Regions from separate parts of the Homo sapiens genome. Here all the other regions are linked to region 1. The links are contacts of gene promoters, found by promoter capture Hi-C in human tissues and cell types (Jung and others, 2019). All regions are on one chromosome and are shown on one strand. The core of a region is centred on a gene start or on the middle of the fragment in contact, and the rest is flanking DNA. Distances in the headings are between cores, read along the strand shown.

The links. The method cuts DNA at HindIII sites, captures the fragments that hold promoters and counts their contacts. A contact is called where the count stands out against the background at its distance.
Region 2: a contact is called between a fragment that was not itself captured here and the fragment with the promoter of TSKU in region 1, in 2 of the 25 tissues and cell types used here (spleen and thymus).
Region 3: a contact is called between a fragment that was not itself captured here and the fragment with the promoter of TSKU in region 1, in 2 of the 25 tissues and cell types used here (dorsolateral prefrontal cortex and mesendoderm cells).

Annotation. Positions count from the first base shown.
Region 1 is chr11:76,780,616-76,785,310 of GRCh38, forward strand. TSKU (tsukushi, small leucine rich proteoglycan) reads left to right here and starts at 2,741. Exons shown (of 2, transcript NM_015516.4): 1 at 2,741-2,789. TSKU-AS1 (TSKU antisense RNA 1) reads right to left here and starts at 2,447. Exons shown (of 2, transcript NR_120562.1): 1 at 2,388-2,447; 2 at 1,966-2,241. RefSeq lists enhancers at 1,978-2,167, 2,402-3,046 and a silencer at 2,598-2,687. The HindIII fragment of the contact is 14,629 bases long and covers 1-4,695 here.
Region 2 is chr11:76,891,763-76,896,457 of GRCh38, forward strand. All of the region lies in intron 1 of ACER3 (alkaline ceramidase 3), which reads left to right. Among named protein-coding and RNA genes, the nearest start is that of ACER3, 33 kb to the left of the region's middle. The HindIII fragment of the contact is 4,899 bases long and covers 1-4,695 here.
Region 3 is chr11:76,874,216-76,878,910 of GRCh38, forward strand. The region is part of intron 1 of ACER3 (alkaline ceramidase 3); the gene reads left to right. Among named protein-coding and RNA genes, the nearest start is that of ACER3, 16 kb to the left of the region's middle. The HindIII fragment of the contact is 5,570 bases long and covers 1-4,695 here.

The sequences.
Region 1 (4,695 bases), core at 1,491-3,990:
TGAAGAATGGAGAAGGTCCACCTCCCTTCCCTTACTTCTAGGTGACTAGGGGACTAAAACTTGGGATGTGTAAGAGGGGGTGGCCAGAACTGATGCTGGAGAGTTAAGGTGAGGTGGGGGCATATCACATAGGCCTTGAATGCCACACCAAGCAGTTTGGCTTTTGCCATTGAAAGGTTTTAAGCAGGCAAGTGTCATGATCCATTCTGCAGATCTGCAGTTTAGAAAGGGCACTCTTGCTGGAATGTGGACAGCAGACAGAAGAGGAGAGTCTAGAGGCACAGAGACTCTCAACTGGAGGCACAGTGATGAGGGGAGGTGGGTAAAGTTCATGGAGATCCACCAGCTGAAGCCCCTCAAGGCCACCTCTCCCTAAGGGGAGGTCAAGGGAAATGATGAATGTGAAAGTGCTCAGAAACTGCTGCCAGCTACCAGCCAGTGTGAAGGGTTGTTGATTACTTTTATGTTAAATGTGAGGCCTGGAGCCTCCAGCCCAGCTGGCTAGAACCTGCACACACAGTGCAGTGGGAGTTAGCTTCCCTGAGTTCCCGGGCAGTTGGGTATTTTCATCTCCAGTTCTCAGATGCTGAACTTGAGACTCGCTAAACAATTCCACATGGAGGAGAGGATGGAAATCGTTAGTCTAGGGCAAGGGGAGGGGGGCGCCATTCCTTCAAAAGAATGTCCCTATGGGAGGGGAGGAAGCAGGAGGAATATAAGCTAGACAAGCCAGGGAGTCCAGAGGTCATTCCCGGGCACCCTCCCCTCCCAAGCCTGCTGGGCTTTCCAGTCTCTACCCCAGTCCCTGACGGAAGACATTTAGCAACCACACAAAGGAGCTTCCTGTGAGCCAGACTAATGCTTTACCTAAATTACCTTGTTTATTCCTCACAATAGCCTCTTCTACAGTTGCAGACACTGAGTCTCAGAGAGGTTAGGTAACTTGCCTAAAGTTACCCAGAGCTGGTAAGTGGCAGGGCTGGAACCTGAATCCTGACCAAGCTTGGCCCTCACCCGATGCTGATTGCAGGTCTCTCTCCCATCTAGGCCAGGAGCCTTTAGAGAGGGGAGGGAATGGGAGGGTGGGAAATGGGAGGGGCCCGACTCCTCTCTATGGGTCCCAGGGGTTGTGGAGTTGAATCCCTGCAGCCCTTTTAAGCCCAACAGTGAGGAAGACACTGGATACCAAAGGGCCCATGGTGCCATCCCAAAGACTGATAAGGAGTGTGAGCTGGATGATCACAGAAGGACTCCTAGTTCTGAAAGCTGGGATTCTAATCAGGAGAGGACAATGAATGGAGAGGAGAGACGGGAGTTCTCCCTGCTTCCACACATATGAGACCAGGCTCCTAGCCTTTTCTCTGCACATTCCTAACTGGCAGGGTCCACAGGTGTCAACCCAAGTGCATCCCCAAGACCACACAATGGCTCTGAGTGCAGAAAGGACCTGCAAGACCAGTTTGTTTTCTGGGCAGCAGATGATTTTGCTGGCCTGAGGCCTGGGGCAGTGGTCTCCACTCCTACCTCACCACCTCTCTAGTGTCTTCCTTCTTCCCCAAGTAGACCGGCATGCATGCACACACAGGCCCAAGCAACTCCTTTTTTTTTTTTTTTTTTTAATGAATAAGAAAAAGTAATAAGGAAAGAAGCAGCAAGCAGACTGGGTGTGTTAACAAGTCTGGGCCACTGCAGGAGGTACATTGCCCAATTTCTGCACCCCGAGGCCCTCCAAAGTCTAGGAGAAGCTCCTGGGAGGTCCAGGGCCCAAGACCAAAGCCTCTATCAACTCTCCCACCTGTGAACTGCCCCTCTCCCAAGGTAGGCATTGTCGGGGTGTGTAGACTGGGAGCCACCCACACACCTGACTCTCCCCTCCTAGGAAATGCGTCCACCAGGTCATTTCTCCTGCAAACCCTCATTTTAAAGTGTCTTGGATGCTTTCCTGCCCTTTTTTTTTTTTTTTAACATAAAGAGGGGTGAGAGCCCAAGAGCTACAGCAGGGGGAATAGACTGAAACTGCTGCCTACTCACACGCCAGTTTCCCTTCTTAGAACTCTAACCAGAAGCCAATGGTTTCCTCCTAAAAGAAAAACTCAATCTGTTGACTTTCTCTCTCCTCTCCTGCCAGCTTTTCTGCCCGAGCCGGGCTCTCTCTTCTCTGTGGGTTCGTCTTTCAGCCAGTCTTTCTCTGCTTCAGATTCTTGGTTTCTTGCTCCCGGTAGTCCCTGAACCTCTTTCACTCTTTAAAAAAAAATGGGGAGGGGCGGTGAACAAGCAAAGAGGAAGCCCTCACCCACCCACCAAATCTCTTTCTTACTAGCAACTAATTCCCTCTCTCTTTCCACACACACAGTCATACACACACATACACATACACAGGCACGTACTCCGGCGACCTCCAGATGTTCCCGACAGTGCGGCCATCTGCTTAGATTGCTGGGGCGCGCAGGGGGAGGGGGCAGGGATCCGGGATGCAGGAAGCTGTGAGCGAGGCCAACTAGAGGGGGCGGGAGCAGCGCACTTTTGAGACGCTCCCTAGAGTGGAACCCGGGCTCGGCTCAGGCTCCGCGGGCGGGGCGCGCGCCGAGAGAGGCTGGCACTTTGGCGACACTCCCTGAGCCGCCCCGCGGCCGGCCCGAGCCGCCACCCGGCGCCCGGCAGGGGGGAGCCTGGCTGCGGGCGGGGACCGGGGGGCGGGCCGCGCCGCGCGGAGAAAAGCGCTGGCCGGAGGGCCCGCGGCCGGGCCGCCGGGGTGAGCGTGCCGAGGCGGCTGTGGCGCAGGCTTCCAGGTGAGTGCAGTTCCCCGGGCGGGGCGAGAGTCCGCGCTGCGGTTGAAGATCCCAAGTCCCCGATCCTAGCCTCGCGGCCCCTTCGGAGGGCGGGCTGGGGACGCCGGGCGCAGGGGCGGGGCTGGGTCCCGCCGAGGCCCCTCAACTTTCGTCGGACGCCTAGGGCTGGGCGGGAGTGGGGAACGCCGACCCAGGGGAGAGGTCTTGCGGGAGACAAAGGCTACGCCCAGGGGCCGTGTGGGTCTTTGTGCGGACACGTGCATCTCACGTTTGTGGGTCTTTGTGGATTTGCGGTCGGGGACGCGCCGCTGTCGGTGCCTTTGTGTGTCCGTGGCTTTGCGCGGCTGCTTTGCGCCCGTGTCCACGTTTGCGGGCCTGCGCTTGGCTGTGGGCGTCGGTGGGCGCATCGCGTGTCTCCGCGTACGTGGTCGGTGCCTGCCGACGTGTCTGGGCTGGGTGTCCGCAGAGGGTGTGCGCACCGAGAGCCCAACGCCGCCCCACCCCCCCGCTCCCCCGCCGTCCCCTCGGGCCCACGACTTGGCTCCAAACTTTTCTCCCGGTTCCTCGGGCAACAGCCCCAGTCCTCCCCACCGCTACCCGGCCGGGGGCGCAGACAGCCCTCCCCCTCCCCCTCCTGAGGTCCCAGGACAGCAAGGGGCTGCGACGGGATTGGTGGTCGGGGGATCGGCAGCGCCTGGGGACTGGCTGGGCAGGGGCTGGGCGGAGCGTGCGGACTCCCCCTCAGACCCCGGCTGGGAGGAAGAGGCGAGCGGTGGGTCCCAGGCTCCGGCCCTGGGCTGGGGAGAGGAAGGGACAGGGCGGCTGGCGTTGCCCTCCCCGCGCTTCTTGGAAAGAGTGTGATCCAGAGTTGCGTCTGTTTGGTAGGGAGACAGGCTCCGCTTTGAGACCCACTCTCCGTTTGCAGCCCGCCCCCGGGGTAGGGGGCCAACCCTCGGACCCGGTAGGGGAGAGGGGGACTGCCAGTCCAGATCTGGGCATGCCCGAGGCGCCGGCTCACAGGACCCGGAGCTGGGCTGGGGGCCGTGGGAGCCTCACATACACAGGTTTCAACTGGGACGGCCACTGGCCCCTGTGCGGCGCTGGCAAGTTGCTCAGCTTCGCGGAGTCGCGGTCACTCTGGCACGGACAGGGCGAGAACTCCCTCGCGGCTCGGGGCGTGCGGTGGGAATAACCCGCGCCTCTGGAGCCGGGCGGAGAGCAGCGCCAGCCCACACTTGGCCTGGCGAGGAGGTGACTCAAGACCTTCGATTCTTCTTTCATCTTTGTGCGCCCTGCCCTTCGGATAAGTCTAGACTTGCAGTGCCTGGGGCTGACCGGAGGTGGGGGGGGGGGGGTGCTCAGAGCTGCAGGAGCCTGCTGGGCTTTTGAGCCTAAGTCGCAAAGATAACCGTAAACACCCTCCTCCCCACTGCTCACTCCAGTCTTTAACCTAGAACTTTGTCGGATGCTGCAGACATGATGGAAGGGCACAGGCCGCTAACCTGGGAAAGAAACAACTGTGGGCATTTTCCTTTCCCTCTCCGGCCTCAGTTTCCCTTCTGGAAGGGGAGGTATTGATAGCCTCTTCTGTTCTGGCTGACTGCTTCAGATCCCAGAACCCAGAAACACTTTGATGTTTAACCTACACCTCCATTCTGACCTGACCTATTCCGAGGCACTACTTTGCTCCCCAGGAAGGCTGCAATGCAACCGCCACCGGGCTTCCACCTACCCTTCCTCCAACACCAGGAAAGGCAAAAGCTGATAAATGAGTCAAAAATGGAGAGGGAAGGGAGGGGGATTGACCTTTTCTCCTCTTACTTTTTAAATGACAGTTTGTGGTGGTAAAGTCCAGATCAGTCTTCTTCTTAATCATAACTCCTGGGTCAACACAGGGGATGCAGTT
Region 2 (4,695 bases), core at 1,027-3,526, 110 kb after region 1:
TTGCCTGGTTTGTGGGAGAAACCCCCACATATTTGGTCACAGAAGTCTTCTGTGCTAATGATAGTTGTGGAGTGATTAAAATAGGAAAAAGCACATCGAGTGTTGTTTTGTTCACACTTACAAGTTATAGTTGCCAGAATTATATAGTTGGATTGCCTCTTAACAATTAGTATAGACTAACACTCATGATTGTATTTCTTCTGTTTTCTTTCTTTTCCTTTGCTTTTTCAGCATGAAGGTTGTATTTCTTGTTTTCTTTTTTGTCCTTTGCTTTTTCAGCATAAACAATACAGCTTCTTGTTAAAGGGATATAACACAAGATTGAATCCAGATATTCCCATTTAGGAGCTATAATATACTGGAAAAATTTCTTAACCTCGTTGGGCCTCAAGTGTTCTAATATGTAGAATGAGAATGATATCACCCATTTTATAAGGTGATATTTTATATCAAAAGATGTTATGTAAATAAAGTCACTAGTATGGTTATAGGAATATAAACTCAATAGGTCTTGGTTCCCTTCTGCTTTATTCTTTCTTTCATTATCTACCCTGTGTTTTTTCCACTTTCATTCTCTTTATTTTTAAAAAATAAAAACCAGGTTTTAAAATAATAAATTTAGTATTTAGATTGAAGCTTAATAGGAAAGACCATGCAAATATTCCAGTTATATGTGTGTGGGGGTTTAACAACACTGCTATTTTAGTTGGATCACAGAGAAACCTCTGTTTGCTGCTGTGGCACACTTGTCTTGGCTGACTGACCCCATTTTCTCTGGTTTTCTTTAAAGCAGTTTTTTTCAGACCTTTAAAAGCTGACACTCGCTCAGTGAGTACCCTAGAAAATAATATCTTGTTCCAGTAGAACTTGGCCCAAAGGATTCTGGTAGAACTAGCATAATTCATTTGAGAGATTTGGGAATTTTTTTTAAATTTTAAAACTTTTATTTTCTAGTCTAATTTTTGTCTTACTGCTGAGGAACTTGATATAAGAAACACTGTTTAAGAAATTAAGTTAAATTAAATAAATTCAGAAAGTCTTAGCCAGAGCAATTTGTCACGAGAAAGAAAGGAATTAAAAGCATCCAAATTGACAAGGAGGAGGTCAAATTGTCCCTGTTTGTGGATGACGTGACCTTTATATAGAAAAACCTGAAGACTCTACCGAAAGCCTTTTAGAACTGATCAATAAATTCAGTAAAGTTGCAGGATATAAAATTAATATACAAAAATTAGCATCTCTATACACAAACAGTGAACTAGCTTGAAAATAAATCAAGAATGCAACCTCGTTTATATTAGCTACAAAAAATTACATAGGAATAAATTTAAGGAGGTAGAAGACCTCTGTGAGGAATACTACAGAATGCTGATGAAAGAAATTGATGAGGATACAAACAAATGGAAAGACATCCCACGCTCATGAATCAGAAGAATTAATATTGCTAAAATGACAGTACTAGCTGGGCATAGTGACACGTGCCTGTAGTCCCAGCCAGTTGGAAGGCTGAAGCAGGAGGATCACTTGAGCCCAGGAGTTCAAGGCTGCAGGGAGCTATGATCACGCCACTCTACTCCAGCCTGGGTGACCAAGCAAGACCCCATCTCTAAAAAAATAAATAAGTAAAAGAAAATAAATTTTATAATCAATATCCTTATATTTGAATCATGACTTTGCCATTTACAGGCTGTGTGATCTTATATATATTTATACAAACTACTTAATTTTGATTTTCACCTTCCTTAGCTGTCAAATTGGATTGAAAATACCTCATAGGGTGGATGTAGTAGCTCGTGCTTGTAATCCCAGCTACCAGGAAGGCTGAGGCAAAGGAATGCTTGAGCCCAGAAGTTTGAGACCAGCCTGGGCAACATAGCGAGATCCTATCTCAAAAAACAGAGAGAGAGAGAAAATACTTCATAGATTTGTTTTGAGGATCAAATTAGACAATGTAATGATTTCATACACTCTAAACTACCATATACATTTTGGTTAATGGCTTTCTTAAGAATTTGTAACATCAGATAATGCAATTAAATTCAAACTACCTTTTTTTAATCCATGAACTGAAAAGTTATTTGTTTTTCTGCTTTAAAATGTCTGTTATTTTAACTAAAACTGTGAGCTTTACCTAATGCAGTGCCTAAGCCCCACCATAGGTGTTCATTCATTTGTGGAGTGAAGGAATGAATATGTTCAACTTCTTGGCATCAGCATTATATATTGCTGTTAAAAACTAAATTACCAGCCAGGCACGGTGGCTCATGCCTATAATTCCAGCACTTTGGGAGGCTGAGGTGGAAGGATCGCTTGAGCCCAAGAGTTCAAGACCAGTTCAAGACCCTGTCTCTACAAAAAATTACAAAATTAGCTGGGCGTGGTGGTACACTCCTTTAGTCCCAGCTACTCAGGAGGCTGAGGTAGGAGGATCACTTGAGCCCAGGAGATCGAGGCTGTAGTGAGCCGTGGTTATGCCACTGCACTCAAGCCTTGGAGACAGAGCTAGACCCTGTCTCAAAAACAAACAAATACAAAACTAAGTTACCTCTTTAATAATTAGATAAATGCAGATACCATTGTGTCTTTCTTTCAATAAGCCTCGTCAGGATTCAATGGTATTACCTTAAACTCTCAAATTTACTGTAGGTATATCATAGACATGTAATTGTCACAAAAATTGGAGGCCACATAGTATAATTAATATGCTTAGACTTAGGTTTTAATCCATTTCTGCCTCTTACTGGTTGAGCAGCTGTTGGTAAGTCATTTAATCTTTGGAGCCTCAGTTTCTCTAGTAAATAGTGAGACTACTCCCTTACAAGGTTACTTTGGGAATTAAATGTTAATGGATATATTTATAAACCATAAAGTGGCATAAAATGTAGAAGTTTTTGACAAGAATATGAGCTGGGCCATATGACTGATTTTTTACATTCATGAAAGTGTATGGAAAATATTGCAAAGATGTCACAAGTTTGGATATTTGAAAGGACTGAAAGTCTCCTTAGAGAATATTTCATTTAAAGGCAAAGGAAACAGTATAACAAAAGAAGGAAGAGGACAGGCAAGCATTGAGGGTATGCAAGATAATCAAGGAGCAAACTCCCTTAGGATCTTAATCTGCATGGAGGCCTGCTTCATCTCTGGATTGAATCACCAAGATCTGTCTGATAAATTTTGGCTTCAGGATAGCTCAAGGCAGAAATTCCCAATGAGGTATTTTATGTTGCAGTGGTCATGGAGTGTTTTTTCCCCCAGTAGTTTTAATACTTTATTATTATATATTTTAAAATATATTTGGAATATAGCCTAGTGTATAATGTGGAGAAAGGATTCAATTTAATTGATCTCAAGATAATTTTTACCCAGTTGCCTCAATACCATTTACTGAATACTTCCTTTCTACTATTAATGATTTGAAATGTCAACATTATTATATACTAAATCCCATATGTTTTTGGGCAGATATTTGAACTTTCTAGCCTGTTTTATTGATATCTCTTCTATATCTCAATATCATATTGTTTTAATGATTTTATGTAACTTCATATTTGCCTCAATTATGGTTCCACTTTCTTCATTCCCCTTGTACCCAGGTTCTCTATGTCACTAGCAGGAAACACTGCACAACATATAAAGACTTTGTATTTTTGTTTAGGGCCACGAGCAGAAGGAAATAATTTTTAAATGTATTCTCTGGTACCAGGAAGAGAAAAAGTAGAAAGAGAGATATAATAGGGCTGAGGAAGGAAGTATTTAACCTACAATCAGGACACTCTGGTTTGAGTCTGCTTCTGATGCTTACTGTATACATGTAGACAAGCTAGTTGACTTTTTAGCTTCTCTATTTCCCTCATTTGCAAAATGAGGAAAATTGATTAGGTCACTGCTTCTTAAATTTTTCCACCGAAGCACCCTTAAGGGCAGAGAAAAGAAAACAAGTACCTATGTGTGAAGATGAAACTGCAAGCAGCCTGCCATAAGTAAAAAATGTTTTTTTAATATTCACGAAAGATTTTTTTGTACATTGTTTATTATAGCATTGGCTGACAGTAAAAATTGGAAATAAGCTAAATGTTGCTTAATAGACAATTTTGTAAATGAAATATGATGTGGCCTTATAATAGAATACTATATAGCCAACAAAAGGATTGAAATTATATATACTGAAAACATAATTCAGGGCTCTGGGTCCATTTCTCTTAGTCCCCCTGTTCTTTCCTCTTTATATTTCCAGTTTGTTGTTTTACTGGACAACCATAATCACCAACTAAGACCTGGGAAAACCCTGGAGTTATGCAATAAAAAGGTTCCCATATCTGGAACCATTTTGGAACACCTAATTTTAAACTAATTTTTAATTATTGCCCCTTTAAATTTTTGCTTGTTAGAATAGGAAAACTTCTTTGCTGTTTGGATATGAAAGGGATTCTGAAAAGGGATTATTTCAACTGTTCAAATTCTTGAAACATCTTTACACAGGTACTATTCATTGGATCCTTACTGTTGTACAAAAGCCCATGCTTCCAGAGTTGCATCAGAACCTTTCGTGAAGTTTTATTCTTCATTTTTGTCCTCCTATGCCATAGTTAAGGGGCATAAAAAAAACTAGTGGGGTGGGCCTGGTGGCTCACGCCTGTAATCTCAGCACTTTGGGAAGCTAAGGCGGGCAGATCGCTTAAGCTTAGGAGTTCG
Region 3 (4,695 bases), core at 1,487-3,986, 94 kb after region 1:
AGCCTGTGACTTTGGGCAAATCACTTAGCCTTATCAAATATCATTTTTCTCATTTTACAAAAACTGATAAAAAGAATGGTTATGAGATTTAAATGGCAGGATGCATGTGAAAACACACTGTGAAGTACCTGGCAAATATTAGGTACTTAATAAAGATGAGTTGAATTGGAATCTAATAAAAATAAGTTAAAAAAAAAAAACAAAACTAACCCATGCTGTATAACAGTTGTGGCTTCCTTACCTGTGGTGATTAGTTTTATTTGTGAACTCGGCTAGGCTATAATATCCACTTATTTAGTCAAACACTTATCTTGGTGTTGCTATGATGGTATTTAGTAAATGTGGTTAATATCTGTAATCAGTTGACTTTAGGTAAAGGAGATTACTCTCAATAACATGAATGGCCTCATCCAATCATTTAAAAGGCATTAAGTGCAAAAGCTAAGGTTTCCAGGATAAGAAATTCTGCCTTAAGTTTGCAGCATCAGCTCCTGCCTGAGTTTCTAGGGTGTGGGAGGTGGGGACGGGGGCAGTTAAAGCTTTATTTTGGGAGGTCTACTTGATTCCTTACTTTGGTGGACTTTCCATTTCTCCTTTTCTCCCTCCCTTCTTTCTTCTTTGATTTGTTTTTAAATTCAGGATTTTTAGATGTTTTCTGTGGGAGGTTCAATTAGATTATCTATATGTCACATATCCTTAAGCTGATGCTTTTGCACATGCTGTTGGCTTGTCGTTTGTCATTTGTAACTGCATTCTCTGAGTCAGTGGATATCTCTTTAAATCTTGACTGATTACTTCTTAGAGAATTAGGTGCTTTTTCTGTTTCCCTTTGAGGACTTTCTATTGACTAAAGCATAAAGACCAAATTCTAACATGGCATGAAAAGCACTTCTTTTTTTTTTTTTTTTTTTTTTTTTTAGATGGAATCTCACTCTGTTGCCAGGCTGGAGTGCAGTGGTGAGATCTTGGCTCAGTGCAACCTCCACCTCCTGGGTTCAAGTGATTCTTGTGCCTCAGCCTCCCTAGTAGCTGGGATTACAGGCGCAGGCCACTACACCGGGCTAATTTTCGTATTTTTAGTAGAGATGGGGTTTCACTATGTTGGCCAGACTGGTCTCGATCTCCTTACCTCGTGATCCATCCACCTCAGCCTCCCAAAGTGCTGGGATTACATAAAGGCGTGAGCCACCGCGCCCGGCCAACATTTCATTTTTTTAAGATGAAATTTTTATGCATACAACAAAGTTGGAAGAATTCTTCAGTGAATATCCATTCACCCACTATCTCAATTCTACCATTAACATTTTATTACACTTGTTTTTATCACATACCGATTCATTTTTCCATTCCTTTCTCCATCCATCAGTTCATTTTATTTTTTGATACATTTCGAAGTAAACTGCAGACATCTGTTTGCTTTCCTCTAAATACTAAAGCATATCATTAAAGTTTAATTCCTTGTTTTTTTTTTCTTTTGATGTAAAATTTACATTCAATGTAATACACAGTTTTTGTTGTTTTTTTTTTTTTTTTTTTTTTTTGTGGAGTCTCACTGTGTTGCCGAGGCTGGAGTGCAGTGGCATGATCTCAGCTCACTGCAACCTCCCCGTCCCAGGTTCAAACGATTCTCCTGCCTCAGCTTCCCAAGTAGCTGGGATTATAGGAGAGCACCACCACACCCGGCTAATTTTTGTATTATTAGTAGAGACAGGGGATTACAGGCACGTGCCACCACACCCAGTTAATTTTTTCATTTTTTTGTAGAGACATGGTTTCACCATATTGGCCAGGATGGTCTTGAACTCCTGACCTCAGGTGATCCACCCACCTCAGCCTCCCAAAGTGCTGGGATTACAGGCATGAGCCACCACGCCCAGCCTGTAATACACAAATCTTAAGTTATTTTTGCTGGATTTTGAGAAATGCATACACCTATGTAACAACCTCTATCAAGATGTGGAACTTTACCATCAGCCAGGAAAGTTCCCTCATGCCCCTTCTCTGTTAATCCCCACCTCCATCTTACCCCTTCTTTCCAGCACAACCACTGTTCTGATTTTTTTTTTTTCCCTACCATAGATTAGGTTTGCCTGTTCTAGAACTGCATAGAAATGGACTTGTCTAGTATTTACTATTTCGGGTAAGGCTTCTTTTGTTCAGCATGTTTTTGAGATTCATCCATATTGCTATGTGGTAGGATTCCACTGTATGAATATACCAGTTTATTAACCCATTTTCCTGTTGATGGACACATGGCTGTTTTTAGGTGTGGACAATTATAAGTAAAGCTGCTATAAACATTCTTGGGCAGATCATTTTGTGGATATATATTTTCGTTTCTCATAGGTAAATGCTTAGGATTGGAATAATTGGGTCATAGAGTATGTGTATGTTTAGTTTTATTAGATACTGCTAGACCTTTTCCCAAAGTGGTTGTACCATTTTACACACAGAGCATTTGATCCACATCCTTGTCAACATTTAGTGTCAATTTTTCAAATTTTAGTCATTCTGGTGGATGTGTGGTTGTATCTCATTGTGCTATCCAGTTTATTTTTAACTCTTGTCTTCTTTCGTTTCCTTGCCCTACTTACATTTCAGTCTTGCCAAAACAAGCTATTTACATATACATTAATACCCTGTGCACTTTTTATTGTTCATATTGTTCCCATGAGAGGTAATAATAAATTTGTTTTAAAATCATGAAGTTTGTGATGGTTATTCAGCAATAAATAACTGAAAACTGTGTCTGAAGTTGAGTTTTGAGAAATTTTGATTTTCTGTTGTGAAAACTCAGAGTATGTCATATTATACCATGCCTTTTATTCTTAGAAGATGAGACTAAAGAATAAAGATTAGTACTTTTATAAGCCCATCTGAAGATTTCAAAAAATTTTATAAGCATCATTTTATTTATACCTGCAATGTACTCAAGACTCCAAAGAGTTATTTTACCCAATGAAAGCAAGTAAGTACCTCAGGGTTGAAATAATTCAGTTTTGAAGCTGGAAAAAAAATCTTTGACTCATCATAGGTGTAGACTCTCGCTCTAACATATGTTCTTTAACTTTTCAGAGCATGCAGCTTTTAACAGCAAGTAGAAGGACTGGCTAGAGTCAGAACTCCAAAACTATGCATGTTAAAATCTTGATGCTGCTATAAAAGCTGTGTTTTTATGATCTTCACTCACTTATTCATTTATACAAAATGATAAGGAGAGATTCTAGATAAGATACTTTTCCTGAAATGAAACATTATGGTTTCTAAGCTATTTCACCTTCTGAGTAGCAATTTTTCCTTTTTTTCCCCCCCATTTCTTTTTTTAAGCAGATATGAGGGCAATCTGTCTTTGTCTCCTGAAATCCCATTGATCACTAGAGTTGATCTAATTAATCTTGTCAATCAGATGGCTGTTTTGTGTTCAGAAAGTCCAACCTAAAGGTTGACAAATGAAGAGAATTATGACCTTGATAAAGGAGGACAGTCCTTTGGTTAAGAGCAGTCATCATTGAAGAAACATTTAGCACCCTCTGTGTCCTTCCCTGATCCCATCTTCTTCCTTTTCCTCTGGAGATAACCAGTATACTTAATTTAGTGTTTATCATTTCCTAGCTTTTACCACTTTGCATTCCTAAAAATAAACTGTTCAGGTTTGCTTGTTTTATATTTTATATAAGTGGAATTGTACTATATGTACATTCTTCCACAGCTTGCTTTTTTTTTTTAAACACAAATTGTGCTTATTAGTATCATTCATGCTCCTGAGAATTGACTGTGTTGATGGATGTAGATATAATTCATTTATTTTTGCTGTTGTTTAGAATTCCACTGTATGAATACATTCATTTATCCATTCTTTAATCATTGGACATTTTGTTGTTTCCAGGTTTTTGCTGTTACAGATAAGGCTGCTGTGAACATTCTTGTGCATCTTCTGGTACACAGAAATGTAAGGGTTTCTGTGTATACTTAGGAGTGTAATTGTTAGAATATAGGTCATGCTCATATTCAACTTTAACTATTAGGTTGGTGCAAAAGTAATTGCGGTTTTTGCCATTACTTTCAATGGCAAAACCCTCAATTACTTTTGCAATGACCTAATAGAAATTCTCGAATTTTTTGGTCTCATGACCCCTTTACACATTTAAAAATTATTGAAGACCCCAAAGAGCTCTGTGAGTTAAATCTATTGGTATTTACTGTATTAGAAGTTAAAACTGAAAAAAGTTAAATCTTTATTAATCCATTTAAGATTCGTATTTTTGAGAAATGAGATTTTTCTATGTGTTGTATCAGTAGTATGTTTCTTTTGATTGCTGAGTGGTATCCCACTGTATGAATGTAATAGTTTATCTGTTTTCCTATTGACAGATACCTGGGCTGTTCCCAGTTTTTGGCTATTATGCATGAAGTTGAACATTCTTATACAAGTCTTTTTGTGAATGTATATTTTCATTTTTCTTGAATAAATATCTAGGATTGGAATTGCCAGGTTAGGGTTGGTTTATGTTTAGTTTTCTAAGAGCCTGTAAGACTTTTTCTCCACAGTGATGTATCATTTTTCATTCTCATCATGGAAGTTTTAGGTGCTCCACATCCCCAACAATGTTTGGTGTTATCATGCTTCTTAATTTTATCCATTCTGGAGTGTGTGTAGTGGTATCTCATTGTAATTTTAATTAGCATTTACCTGAT